3 separate regions of the Homo sapiens genome follow, and all the other regions are linked to region 2. The links are contacts of gene promoters, found by promoter capture Hi-C in blood cells and fetal thymus (Javierre and others, 2016). All regions are on one chromosome and are shown on one strand. Each heading gives the region's core, a stretch centred on a gene start or on the middle of the fragment in contact. The rest is flanking DNA. Distances are from core to core; before and after follow the strand shown.

Region 1 (4,048 bases), core at 688-3,187, 2.8 Mb before region 2:
AAAAAAATCTGTGGTTGAAAAATAAAGTCCATGATCCTTAGAATTAGAAAATATATACGGCTTCATTAATGTTTCTTTAAACATATAAAGGTTTTGTTGCAGACACACGGGGCTGGAATTCTGGTTCTGCCACCCAACCTATTTGACCTTGGATGAATCAAAACCGTCTGAGCCTTAGCTTCCTCCTCCATAAAATGGGAGCTTTAAAATCCACCTTATAAAGCTGTTGTGAGGAGCAGACGTGATCATCTATGGAGAGCATGTATATTTGCTAATAGACGAAAAATGCGATGAATGATTACAATTATAACCCATGCAGTCAGCTAACATTAGGGGTAAGTGATATATCCTTAACAATAAAAGTATACTATATTTGCTCCAAATATTTAGGAAACTGAGTAAGTGAGCTAGACTCAAAGACTGAATCCACAAAATGTATATTCTAGGAGTTGACGATTAGAAAGGTCCTGGTGATCACATAGTCCAACCCTCTCATTCAACCAACCAGACAAGATGTCCAGAGAAATTTAGGTGGCACAATCAATGACACTGAGATGGGTAATCAAAGCCAGGACTATAACCCAACTTTTCTGTAAGAGCTAAAGACAAATAGCCAAATGATTAGGGAGGAAAAATATGTTGTGAAAAATCTTAGACTTACTATAAATCTTTTTTTTTCTTTCTTTCTTTCTTTCTTTTTTTCTGAGAGACAGAGTCTTGCCCTGTCGCCCAGGCTGGAGTGCAGTGGCGCGATCTTGGCTCACTGCACCCTTTGCCTCCCAGGTTCAAGCTATTCTCCTGCCTCGGCTTCCTAAGTAGCTGGGACTACAGGCGTGCACCACCACGCCCAGCTGATTTGTGTATTTTTAGTAGAGATGGGGTTTCGCCATGTTGGCCAGGCTGGCCTTGAACTCCTGACCTCAAGTGATCCACCCGCCTTGGCCTCCCAAAGTGCTGGGATTACCCGTGTGAGCCGCCACGCCCAGCCTATTTACTATAAATCTCCCACTTACTAGCTGTGTAGCCTTGGGGAAGTTACTGATCCTGTTTCTTTCTTTTTTTTTTTTTTTTGAGACGAAGTTTTTTCCTCTTGTTTTGCCCAGGCTGGAGTGCAATGGCGCAATCTCAGCAACCTCCACCTCCTGGGTTCAAGCGATTCTCCTGCCTCAGCCTCCCGAGTAGCTGGGATTACAGGCATGTGCCACGACGGCCGGCTAATTTTGTATTTTTACTAGAGATGGGGTTTCTCCATGTTGGTCAGGCTGGTCTCGAACTCTCAATCTCAGGTGATCTGCCCACGGCCTCCCAAAGTGCTGGGATTACAGGCGTGAGCCACCGCGCCCAGCCCACTGATCCTGTTTCTAAGCTTCGTTTTTTTCATCAGCAAATAGAGCGAATATTGACCTCACAGGGTAGTGGTCTGGTGAAAGGATTAATGTATATCTAGTTCATAGTAACTGCTTAGATAGAAAGCATCCAATATCAACCATCAATCAGATATAAATAATTAGTTCCAAGACATTTATACTATCTCCACAATCAAACTGCACAATTCAGGTTCATTGTTTAAATCATACAAGTGAAATTGTAAAGCCAGTCTTCTAGTACCTTTGAACTTGTACCTTTCAGCGCCTAAAGAAACTATGCTATACCAAGCATAGGTGTACACATCAATGGCTTTCAGTGGCACCTCTGACCATAACCATCAAGATCAAGACAAGTTGCCAAATATGATAAACAAAATTAATCTATTTTCCGCTGTCTCATCCTAGCTTCATGCCTCCTCCCACCACTAACTTCCCACTAAATTCTCCAGGTATGCCCCCTCTTCCTCCTGAAGCACTTCATCTTTCTTAAAGACAGTTGTTTCCCTCAGGTGCTATCTTCCTCCTATGCAGAAATCCTATTCTTCCACAAATCCATAGCTAGATATTTGACAGCCAAGTAAAGTAATTCACGATAAGCTAACTCATAGGGAAGATCTGTACCTGAATCTTTAATTGGGTTATACGTAGAGGAGATTAAACCATAGCCACATCCCATCTGCCCTCTTCACTCTATGAGACCCAGAGTTTCCACCACAGAACAGAGGACTGACTGGAATCAAAGCTCACCCCTTTCTTGGAGGCTATTCTTTGATGTGCTGGACACCCTTCACAGCCAACCTTTGAAAGGAAGAGAGACGCGAAAGAATTGGGCCAAATGTAGACAATGCTTCAGAAATAGAAGATTGGTAGAACTTGAGGAGATATGGGAAAATCCACATTCCTTTTACCCATGCTCTCAACTTTTTACCCATTTCCACAATTATTTTATTTCTTGGAAGTAAAATAGTATTTGAGGGAACTATAATGCATTAATCTCACATTCATGTGATTGAGTCATTGGAAGCCGTGCCAGGCTTGAGAGCAGAGAAGGAATAAAGAGACAGGAGGAAATCTGCATTCAACCTGGACCTAGTTTTTTCAGCCAAATAAATGGCATATTGGGAGACACTGCAATTCATGAAAAGCTTGTTGCTACAATAGTCCTCCTCTGCCAAGAAACTTCTTTATTTTGTTCCCCATATAATATAGTAGAAAGTGGCCGAGCACAGTGGCTCACACCTGTAATCCCAGCACTCTGGGAGGCCAAGGCGGGTGGATCACTGGAGGTCAGGAGTTCGAGACCAGCCTGGCCAACATGGTGAAACCTGTCTCCACTTAAAAAAAAAAAAAAAAAAATTAGCTGGGCGTGGTGGTGCTCACCTGTAGTCCCAGCCACTCGGGAAGCTGAGGCAGGAGAATCGCTTGAACCATGGAGGTGGAGGTTGCAGTGAACTGAGATCATGCCACTGCACTCCAGCCTGGGCCACAGAGTGAGACTCCATATCAAAAAAATTAAAAAATTAAAACAACAAATATATATATATATGTATATATATATATGTAACCAGCTGCCAATTATAAATTAGCAAATAGGCTGCTGACCCATCTCTAATAGATAAGGAGTATCCACTAATTAAAAGTGAAATACAATTTAGTCTAAACCCAACCTAGATTGAAAAAGAGCCATCATACATTCTTCAGAAGGTACTAATACAATTCTGGCCAAAAGAATGTTTAAAGATGACAAGTACAAGAAGTTACGAAATTTTATGTAGTTATTCCACCTTACCAAAACAAAATGAGGTATCTGCTGTGATGTCTATTAAAACAAATTATCACACTCATGCACAGCATAACAATGTTTCAATCAACAATGGGCCCAATATACAATGGTGGTCCCATAAAGAGCTGAAAAATTCGTATTGCCTGGTGATACTGTCTTTGTCCTAAGGTCTTATTGCAACACATTACTCACGTGTTTGTGGTGATGCTGGTATAAACAAACCTACTGTGTTGCCATTTGTGTAAAAGTGGAGTATGTACAATTATGTACAGTACAGAATACTTCATAATGATAAGTGGCTGTTTCTGGTTTATGTATTTACTATACCTTTTTTTTTTTTTTAACAGGCACTCCTTGCCATTTCCTGTTGCTACCATACTTTATTATTTTAAAGTGTATTCCTGGTCAGGCATGTGGCTCACACCCATAATCTCAGCACTTTGGGAAGCCAAGGCAGGAGGATCACTTGAGGCCAGGAGATTGAAACCAGCCTGGGCAACATAACGAGACCCCTTCTCTACAAAGAAATGAAAAAATTAGTTGAGCTTAGTGGTGTGCACCTGTAGTCCCAGCTACTAGGGAGGCTGAGGCAGGAGGATCACTTGAGCCCAGGAGTCTAAGGCTGCAGCGAGCTATGATCTCACCACTGCAGTCCAGCCTAGGTAACAGAGTGAGACCCCATCTCTAAAGAAAAAAATAAAGAAAATGAAGCTATTGGGTTTATTTATTATTTATTTATTTATTTATTGCCTGTTTGCTTGTATTTTAGGGAAAGAAGGGCCACACAACGGAAAGATATTTAAGGATGTAAATCATTGTATTCTCATTAACTTACTGTGTTCTCTCTCTATTGGGAATAAAGTAATATTTAAGACTAAATTAACTAATATGAGCAAAT
Region 2 (4,513 bases), core at 1,828-4,327:
TTACTTATTACCAAATATTTATAAAGCATTTAGTGTTATATTGTTGGCTGAAAAAACAGGAACAAAATAGGATGGTGTATATTTATGAAGCTTAACTCTAATTTAAGAAACAAAGCATTATTTTTTTTTTTCTTTGAGACGGAGTCTCACTGTGTTGCCCAGGCTGGAGTGCAGTGGCGCGATCTCAGCTCACTGCAATCTCCGCCTTCCAGGTTCAAGCGATTCTCCTGCCTCAGCCTCCCGAGTAGTTGGGACTACAGGCTCATGCCACCATGCCTGGCTAATTTTTTGTATTTTTAGTAGAGACAGCGTTTTACCATGTTAGCCAGTATGGTCTTGATCTCCTGACCTCGTGATCCGCCCACCTTAGCCTTCCAAAGTGCTGGGATTACAGCCGTAAGCCATCGTGCCTGGCCTTTTTTTTTTTTTTTTAATCTTTTTGAGATGGAGTTTCGCTCTTGTTGTCCAGGCTGGAGTGCAATGGTGTAATCTCCGCTCACTGCAACCTCCACCTCCTGGGTTCAAGAGATTCTCCTGCCTCAGCCTCCTGAGTAGCTGGGATTACAGGCATATGCCACCACACCCAGCTAATTTTGTATTTTTAGTAGAGACAGGGTTTCACCATGTTGGTCAGTCTGGTCTTGAACTCTTGGCCTCAGGCGATCCACCCGCCTCGGCTTCCCAAAGTGCTAGGATTACAGGCGTGATCCACTGCACCCGGACTTACTGGTTGCTTTTCAAAGGTTGTACAGATACTATAAATATATTTAACCAATACTCTATTGAGGAGGAGCCGGAGAGGGTTTCCAGTCTTTTGCTATTGTAAGCAATGCTTAAAAAAATACTCTGGAACATAGGTCATTGTAAGCAATGCTTCAAAAAATACTCTGGAACATAGGTCATTGTAAGCAATGCTTCAAAAAATACTCTGGAACATAGGTCATTATGTATATTTCTGTAAGATAAATTCCTAGAGGTAGGGTTACTGACTTCAAAGGATTTAGACTAAAGGTGCTTAAAGAGAGAGGTTTCACCTGTTAGTTAGTTTTTGTAGCCAAAACTTGAAAACATCCTTTCTTCCTCTTTTTTCGTACCTATCAATCACCAAGTCTTGCTGCTGTTACCTCCTCAATTTGTTTAAATCTGTCCTTCCTTCCCATTCCTCCCAGCCAACAACTCAATTTAGGCTTTTACTATTTCTTCATGTCTGAAATATCGTCCTCAAACCCATTGTCCTGAGAGAATAATCTGCTCGAACACATTCATGTTGCCTACTACATACATCCAGGATTAAGTCTAATGCCTTTGAATACACAAGGTTCACCTTGATCTAGTCCCTGTGCTTCCCTTTCTCTGGTAGACTTCTCCCATCACCAGCTTCACTCTCTTTGCTTTTACACTGTGGAATAATTCATCATTTCAGGCCTCCTTGCTTTTGCTCTGGCTGACTCTCCAGCTTGGAATGCCTTCATCCATTTCCCTTACTTCACCTTTGTGTTCCTGTGCATTCATCTTTCATAGTGATTGCTATTCTCTACTGAAATGAATTTTTTCAAAATAGCCTGCAATTGCAATAGGCAGTACTTTTTTTCTTTCTTTTTAGCTCTAGCATCTATCACAGTGCTTGTGGTCATGGGGTACATACTCAGTAAAATATCTTTTACTGAACTCAACTAGATCTTGGGGGAAAAGGGGTGGAGTCATTCATTCATTCATTCATTCATTCAACATATGTTTATTGAGAAGCTATAAACATAGGCACAAGGTTATGTGCTAGGTAGTGCGATTACAACCAAGAAGATAACCCAGGGCCTACTTTTGGTCTAGTGAAAGAGATGGAATTAGATGGGTATGGTGGTGTGCACCTGTAGTCCCAGCTACTTGGGAGGCTAAGGCATGAGAATCTCTTGAGGCTAGGAGGGAGAGGTTGCAGTGAGCTGTGATGGTAACACTGTACTCCAGCCTGGGTGACAGAAGAAGACCCTATCTAAAAAAAAAAAAAAAAAAAAAAAAAAAGTAGGGCAACATAAATACACAATTTTAATTTAGGTGGGTAAAGACAACAGTGGACCCCAGGGCACAGTTTAGATTATTTTATGGATATGGATAAACAGAGAAAAGGGTGGTTTTTTTTTTTTTTTTTAAATCTATTTTAGAGACTGGGTCTCACTGTGTTGCCCAGGCTGTTTTCAAACTTCTGAGCTCAAGTGATCCTCCCACATCAGCCTCTTGAGTAGATGGATGGCATTTTAATTAGATGAAATTGTACTAGGAAAGGCATTTGCAAAACAAAGTAATTGCCCCAAATCACTATGAAACCCTAAGTCAGGCATAAAACTCACGATTTCTGACCCTTCTTCATGGCCTATTGCCTCCTATTACCTTTACTTTTTCAAGTAAAGATATTCTTCTGGTAAACACATGGTCAAATACAGTGTCTTGGGTAACGAATAGTAAAGTGAGATAACATATGTAGAGAAAGCGGGTGAGAATCCGTACTCCATAAAAGTATTTTCTTTCCATAGGTGTCTGCTAAACTGCCATCTAAGTTTTCCAAAACAAAAAACAAAAACACTTGTGTGGTGCTCAATGATGTATATTAAGTGAAACCTACCAACTGACCTTTATCCTTTCCTTCCTGTTTTTTTAATATTAAAGAAGAGACCTCTTTTCACAAATGATTGAGGAGGCTAGTAAAATGCAGTGAAAAGAGCAAGTTCTTTGGGAGTCAGACAGCATCGGATCCAGCCCAGAGCGCAGCACGACTAGTAGAGTAACTTAGATTAAGTCCTTAAACTTCCAGTGTCCTCTTTTGTAAACTGGGAATAATAATAATAATAAATAAATAGTGAATAATATTTATGCAAAGTACTTAGCACAGTGTCTAACACATAAAAGCTTAGGAGAAGTTGGCTATTAAGCATTTCTAGGAACCCGAGGACTCAGGGTTGTTATTTTAGTTCTTGGAATCAAAGGAACTTGAAGCGTAGTCATTCCTAAACTAAGTTAAACCAGAACTAGCGCTTTCAGCAATGATGTAATTTGATCTCTTCGGGCCACCGTCGCTGAGCATGCGCAAATAAACGTGGCGGGACGTATGTGTCATGGCGCTCTCCATCTAAAGTCTGTGCAGCTTCCGGAGAGTGGCGGGTTGATTTTCTCACTTTGGACTGGTTTTTACTTCCCGACTTCTGGGTAAGGGTGGCCGATGGGTCCATGTGGGGCAGAGTGTGGCCACAGCTCCTTTTATGGCCAAGCCTTGTTTCTCCAGTTTCAGTTTTTCTTGGGCTGTTTGCAAATTTGTTTCGCAGTTAAAAGGGGATTTGCCAGCTGGGATGGGGGAATTGGGAGGCAGATGGGGCTTCCAGGAGCGAGGATAGGGTCGTTGGCCTCAGGTGCCGCTCTCCAGTTAGGAGTATTTTAGGCACCTCGTTCCTTATTGTCAGGTTTAACTTCATTTGTTCTCCCACTTTATACCTTAGTGAATTTGTAGATGTGACAAGGCTTTCGCAGTTATATAGCTTTCCCAGATCAGTATGTTAAGAATTTAAGCAGAAGTTATTGAGAAAAGCAGGTGTCTTGCTTTTTCACTTTTCGTTCTTCTTTGCTCATAAAACCTTTTTCTGAATCTCGGGACGACAGTTATCTTTCGGATGGAACGTGATCTGGATGTCTATCTACCTTATTGACTTAATCCTGTTTTGTAGTGGTTGGTTACTCGCACTATGCAGACGTGTTGCGGTGCTGAATACAACATTTATTACTAAAGCCAGACACTGGATCACCGTCACGGCAGATGTCAGCACACCTGTTGTAATCAGTAAGAAGTTACAAGTAGTATGGAGCATCATTAATCCTGCTGTATAAAGCAGTCTTTTATGGAGTCTGATTCCTTTTAAGTAAAGAATCCTTACAGTGGTTTTGTGAACTTTTTGGGTGCTTACTTTTCCTAATCAATTTTTATTTTCCAGACTCATCTTTCAAGAGGACTTTAGACTAATTGCAGATAATTAAGGTACTGATTTATTTTAAACCTTTTATGTTTGAGTGCTGTGCGTATTTCTGCATGTTAGAAAATGCAGAGAGGTAGCCTAATGTTTTAGCTATTTGCCACTATCATGTTATGGAAACATTGTGCTTTACATAGCATTAAATCGAAGAGATATTTTCATTTATTTTACTTAACCTTTCATTTTCATTCACCAGCATTGACCATGTCCACTTTTTTGAGATGCCCTTTTCATTTGCCTTCCATGGCCCATGGATTTTTTTCCTTGTCTGGTGGCTGCTTCTTGGAATCCATTATAAGCTGATTTTCCTTTATCTGGCAGTTAAATTTGGAGTCTCTCAAGTCGTGGTCTTGTACCTTCTCCTACCTCTGTTCTCTTTTTCTTCCCCTCTGGGTGATGTAATCCACATGCCTGTCAACAGTTATTTGTCTTTTTGATTCTACCCATCCTAATGGGTATGAAGTGGTGTATTATTGTGGTTTGGATTTCCATTTCCCTGATGG
Region 3 (4,517 bases), core at 629-3,128, 2.4 Mb after region 2:
GGGAGAGAGAAATGGAAAAAAAGATATTTATCTCTATTTTTTTTTCAAGTATCATAGATCTTCCAAGGAAGTTTTCATTACAGAGCCAAAGTCGATTACAACTTTGAGAAGCTAGAAGTAGAATCTGATTTCTGGGGGATTAATTCTTCCCTCGTTCAAATAGCATATATGAGAATGGAAAGCTGCCTGTGAGAAATATGTTGGAGCGTGTGCTGGGACAAAGTCAACAGGTGAGACTCCTTCAGAAAACCTCTTGGGTGTTAGCATTGCATTTTCTGTTTTAGAATAATGCTTGGCAGATAATAAAGAAAAAATAGGTATCTAAAGGTTGTATATGTTATGTGACCCTTATTTAACGTGAAGGCACTGTCTATCAGGCCAGGTTCATGCCAGGTAAAGTCACAAGAGCATATCCCCCTGCTTGGTTTTAATCACATTGTGGGAAAGTGTTATTAATGAAATATGTATTATCTCTTGAAACATTAAAAACCCAGAAATCTTTTAATTTGCCTTAATAATATAATAATATGTTCCTGAGAGCGGGGAAGTTTTAACAGATTCAGCCACTCTCCAGATCTAGGAGATGATTTGGGGCTTTCATAATAAATAATTAGTATGCTATCTAGAATTAAAATTTACAATATGAAAGTCTAGGAAAAATAATTGTTGGAGACACGAGAAACATTGAAAGAATTTGACTCGCCTTATAAGTACCATCTGCTTGAGTGTTCTTAAAGATTCACAGATGTTAAGATTCTCTATTTAAAGTATCATACCTGTCTAACCTATTATTTTACCCAGCAAAGGCCAAGATGAACAAAATATAGTACAAAAAAATTTAAAAAATAAAAAGATACCAGAAACACTAGCAAACCAAATCAACACCTGTTTCTTTCAAACCTTGAAGGGGCGGAGGATTATATTTGAAGTATGTTCATATTTAAATAGTAGTAAAAAAAAAGCTTGAATAATCTGCAATCAAGGAAAACATTTTAATCCAATTTCAACTAAAATGACAAACTGAGAATATCGAATCTAGGGAATAGTTTTGTTTTCCATCCACACAGCATCAAAGAACACATAGAGATACGGACTGAAATATCCACAGGATAAAAGCCTTCCTACACCTTAGAAGTTCAATATTAAGCAGTTCTAAATGTACTTATTTTTCTGTTTCTTTTTCTTTTGGTTTCAGTTTCTGTTTGTAACCCGCTCTGGTTAGTAACCTATAGAGTACAAAGCTAATAGCTTTTAGCTGAATAATTTCTGCTTTGAAAGGAAACTCATAGTGTGATGACATTCTCAGGTTATCTTGTAATTGATTGTTTCTAATGGATGAGTCTTTTTGTTTAACTAAGGATTTCTGACCTTTAAGACTGTTAGTATTTTTAGGTGGTATTTACTCTGTTGATATCTTCCTTTCATTGTTTCTCTGCACTCTTTGTGCGTAGTTTCTGTGTTTAAGCTAGCAATTTCAAACATTTTGAAAGTAAACACTTAATCTCCTCGGTGTGTATACTTTCTGGTCTGTGCCTGTGAAAACACTCTCCTAATGCATTAGAGAGATGTTGAAACTTTGGTTTCAGAAAAACCTTAGAGCTTCTTGTTGCTGAGGGAGAAGGGAGACTTAATGTGGCTTACCAAATTTGGTTTGTTTTCTATCTGAACTTTGGCTTATTATATCTAATTATATCAGACCTTGGCATTTTAAACACTTAATGAGAAAAGAGGAAAAGAAATGAAATCCTTCAAGATCTTTATATCATGGATTATTTTCTACTACTTAGGAATGATATGGGGTAAAATAATGGCATCTATTCTGCAAGAATAATATCAGGTTATAAATTATCTGCCAGGTGGTTTGAGGCAATTTTCCCAGGTTGGAAAAAGATGAGGGGACATGTCCACATTTTACCAGTAAAATAAAGTCTAAAAAAAACCTTTAATGATGTTCTAAAGGAGAGAATCAAGCAACCAAGGGGTTTGGGAAATCTGACAGAATTAATGGAACCCTGTTTTTTCTTAATTTGTTTTGTGCTTAAGGACTTGGAATTCTGTAATAAATGTTGAACCCCTAATTTACATTGCCTGGAGTTGCCAAGCTCACTCCTGCTTTCAGCTAGCCCACCTGAATCCTTGCCCAATGGCATGGCCCCTGGAGTGGGAAGGTTGGCATGAGAGTGAAATGATGCCTGTGATTCACTGCACCCTAAAGTGGATGTCACCCCATCTTTGAAAATCATTCCTGTGTTAGTTAGCCAAGCAATCCTGTTTGTAAGGAACATGGAAACCTCTCAGGACTCTTCTAAGAATAACAGCAATAATAAAAAGTGAGGTACTTAAGCAGTCCCAGCAAGCAAGAAAATGCAACAAATACCATTCCATTTACCAGCTTTCAAAAATTGAAAAAAGGAGATTTAGCACAAAGTGCACTTAAGAAAGAAAAATCAAGACAGTCTAGCAGAAGCTGGGGGAGGAGGGAACACACGGAGTAAAAATTCCCTCTGAGCCCACGGAAAGCAATAAGAGTTCTCATTTAACCTTGGAAAATGACTTGAGAATCACTTGTACTTTGAAACGAATCTAAATTGCAAACTAATTTCCCAGTGGGATATGTTGATGGCCTACTGTACACAGCATAAATAATGAGTTTGCAACCAGGACCCCAAATAAAGCAGTGCACGTCTGTGGAATTTATGAGCATGTTTCCCCACCTCCACCATCTGACATTGCAATGTTAATGCTTCCAGTTAGGAGTTTTACTGTGTCAGCAGGTGAATTCCCTGGCAGTAAGTCAAGCTTTAATGGAACATGCTGGTAGGAACGATTACGCTGCTGCAGTGTAAAACTCTGGTGTCAGTATTAGGCTCCTAGAATACATGGGCATGGACTGCCACCTACCCTGTTTGCAGGTGTTCTTAGCTGTTTGACTTTCAATACTTTACTTTAAGTTGACCATGACAAAGTAAAATTTCTATCTTATAAAGGATTTTAGAGCTGGCTGATATAATGAGGTCTAGTCACACCTTCTTTTTTATATAAGGAAGAAATCCAAGGCTGGAGGGGTAAAGTGGCTGGCTAGATGATACATGTTAATATGTGGTCGAACTGGGACTCTAAACTAGGCCTTCCCTACGCCTTTGGTGTTCTTATAAAGGATGCTGCCTTTGCTGGAATCAAAAAAGGTGGATGCAATACATTTCATAAATGTATTTAGAAAAACTTGGCAAGAATTTGAATCTGAAATATAACAATAATAGAAAGCAAAGCATGCATCTAGTAGAGCTGAACATCCAGACTTCTCAAACTGAGAAACAGGCATACAATGAGACAAGAGCACAAGTGATTGGGATAGTTTTATAATCACTCAAATTTAAACTTACTACTAGGTTGAATGGCACTGAAGAATAAATGTCATGCCTCTAAACAGCTCATTGGAGATGAGACCTGGTGACTTTGCAAAGTGAAGAAATCCGTCTGAGGTAGGAACAACTGGTATTTGCCAAAAAAAGGCTTGTGCGCCTTATGGGTTAGGAAGTTCCATCCTGAGTATGCCCAGCCATAGCACTTCTGGGATCACTCATGGGAGTTTACGCTGTGGAGGAGATCTGATTTCCTCCACGAGAGCAATGCCTAAATTCTTAGCCTCTTATCCCAGGGTGTTAACTCTGCTACATGATGTGGCTTCTGTTCCTCAAAGCTGTTTCAGCTAAACAACCTTCCTTAAGCATCTCAGGGGTCTCATAGCTTGCAAATAATGTTGCTTTATTGCACTTTCTCTATGAGATCCCAAAGTAAACAAATGAGATCTGAGTTCCAGCCTGACCTAAAAGTTGGTGTCACCATTACAAAGCCATCTTACCTGGATTGGGAATGCCAACCAGTGATCCTTCCCTCATCAGTTCCTTTCTTCCTTCATTACATCACCTATCTCAGACAGTTAACCCTCCTTTCAAAGCCCCTACTCCACTCCTTGTCTGCTCCAAAAGTTGTCCACTTTTCTGACATAGCCTTTTCATGTCAGCAGGCAAATATGTTCAAATCTTCTAAATCTAAGAACCAAAAGAAAAACAGAAACAGAAACTAAAAAACTTACTCGGCTACACATCTCCCTTGAACCATTACTCTGCCAAACTTCTATCAAAAGCAACCTTTACTCCCAGTTCCCTGTCTCTGCCTCCACACTTCAGCACCTTTACTAGGAACATATAATTCTGCACATCCCACCCTGACACTGCTTTACCAAAATTATCAATTACTTTCCAGATGCTTCCATCAAATAACATGTTTATTTCTCCAACCCACTCACTTCTCTGCTAACATTGTTTTGGAGAACTCCTCTTCCTCCTTGTAACTCCTCTTCCTCCTTTGGTATCAGGGACACCATTTTGTTCTGATATTCTTGTAAGTGTTCTTGACAGTCCTCAGCAGGTTCCCATCTCTATCTGTTAAGTGTTTGTGTTCCTCACAATTCCATCACCAGTCTTTATTTTTGTACTATTCCATTTACTTTCTTA

Evidence for each region. The method cuts DNA at HindIII sites, captures the fragments that hold promoters and counts their contacts. A CHiCAGO score of 5 or more calls a contact.
Region 1: a contact is called between a fragment that was not itself captured here and the fragment with the promoter of CDKAL1 in region 2, in 1 of 17 cell types (non-activated CD4 T cells). The highest score is 6.1, in non-activated CD4 T cells.
Region 3: a fragment that was not itself captured here is called in contact with the fragment with the promoter of CDKAL1 in region 2 in 1 of 17 cell types (fetal thymus); the score reaches 9.0 in fetal thymus.

Annotation. Positions count from the first base shown.
Region 1 is chr6:17,707,292-17,711,339 of GRCh38, forward strand. It overlaps NUP153-AS1 (NUP153 antisense RNA 1), which reads left to right. Exons shown (of 3, transcript NR_134618.1): 2 at 103-335; 3 at 3,498-3,736. Among named protein-coding and RNA genes, the nearest start is that of NUP153-AS1, 2.3 kb to the left of the region's middle. The HindIII fragment of the contact is 1,146 bases long and covers 1,365-2,510 here.
Region 2 is chr6:20,531,380-20,535,892 of GRCh38, forward strand. It overlaps CDKAL1 (CDKAL1 threonylcarbamoyladenosine tRNA methylthiotransferase), which reads left to right and starts at 3,078. Exons shown (of 16, transcript NM_017774.3): 1 at 3,078-3,195; 2 at 3,972-4,015. RefSeq lists enhancers at 3,007-3,166, 3,197-3,276. The HindIII fragment of the contact is 2,844 bases long and covers 2,897-4,513 here.
Region 3 is chr6:22,953,720-22,958,236 of GRCh38, forward strand. No RefSeq gene overlaps it. Among named protein-coding and RNA genes, the nearest start is that of LINC03005, 240 kb to the left of the region's middle. The HindIII fragment of the contact is 1,837 bases long and covers 961-2,797 here.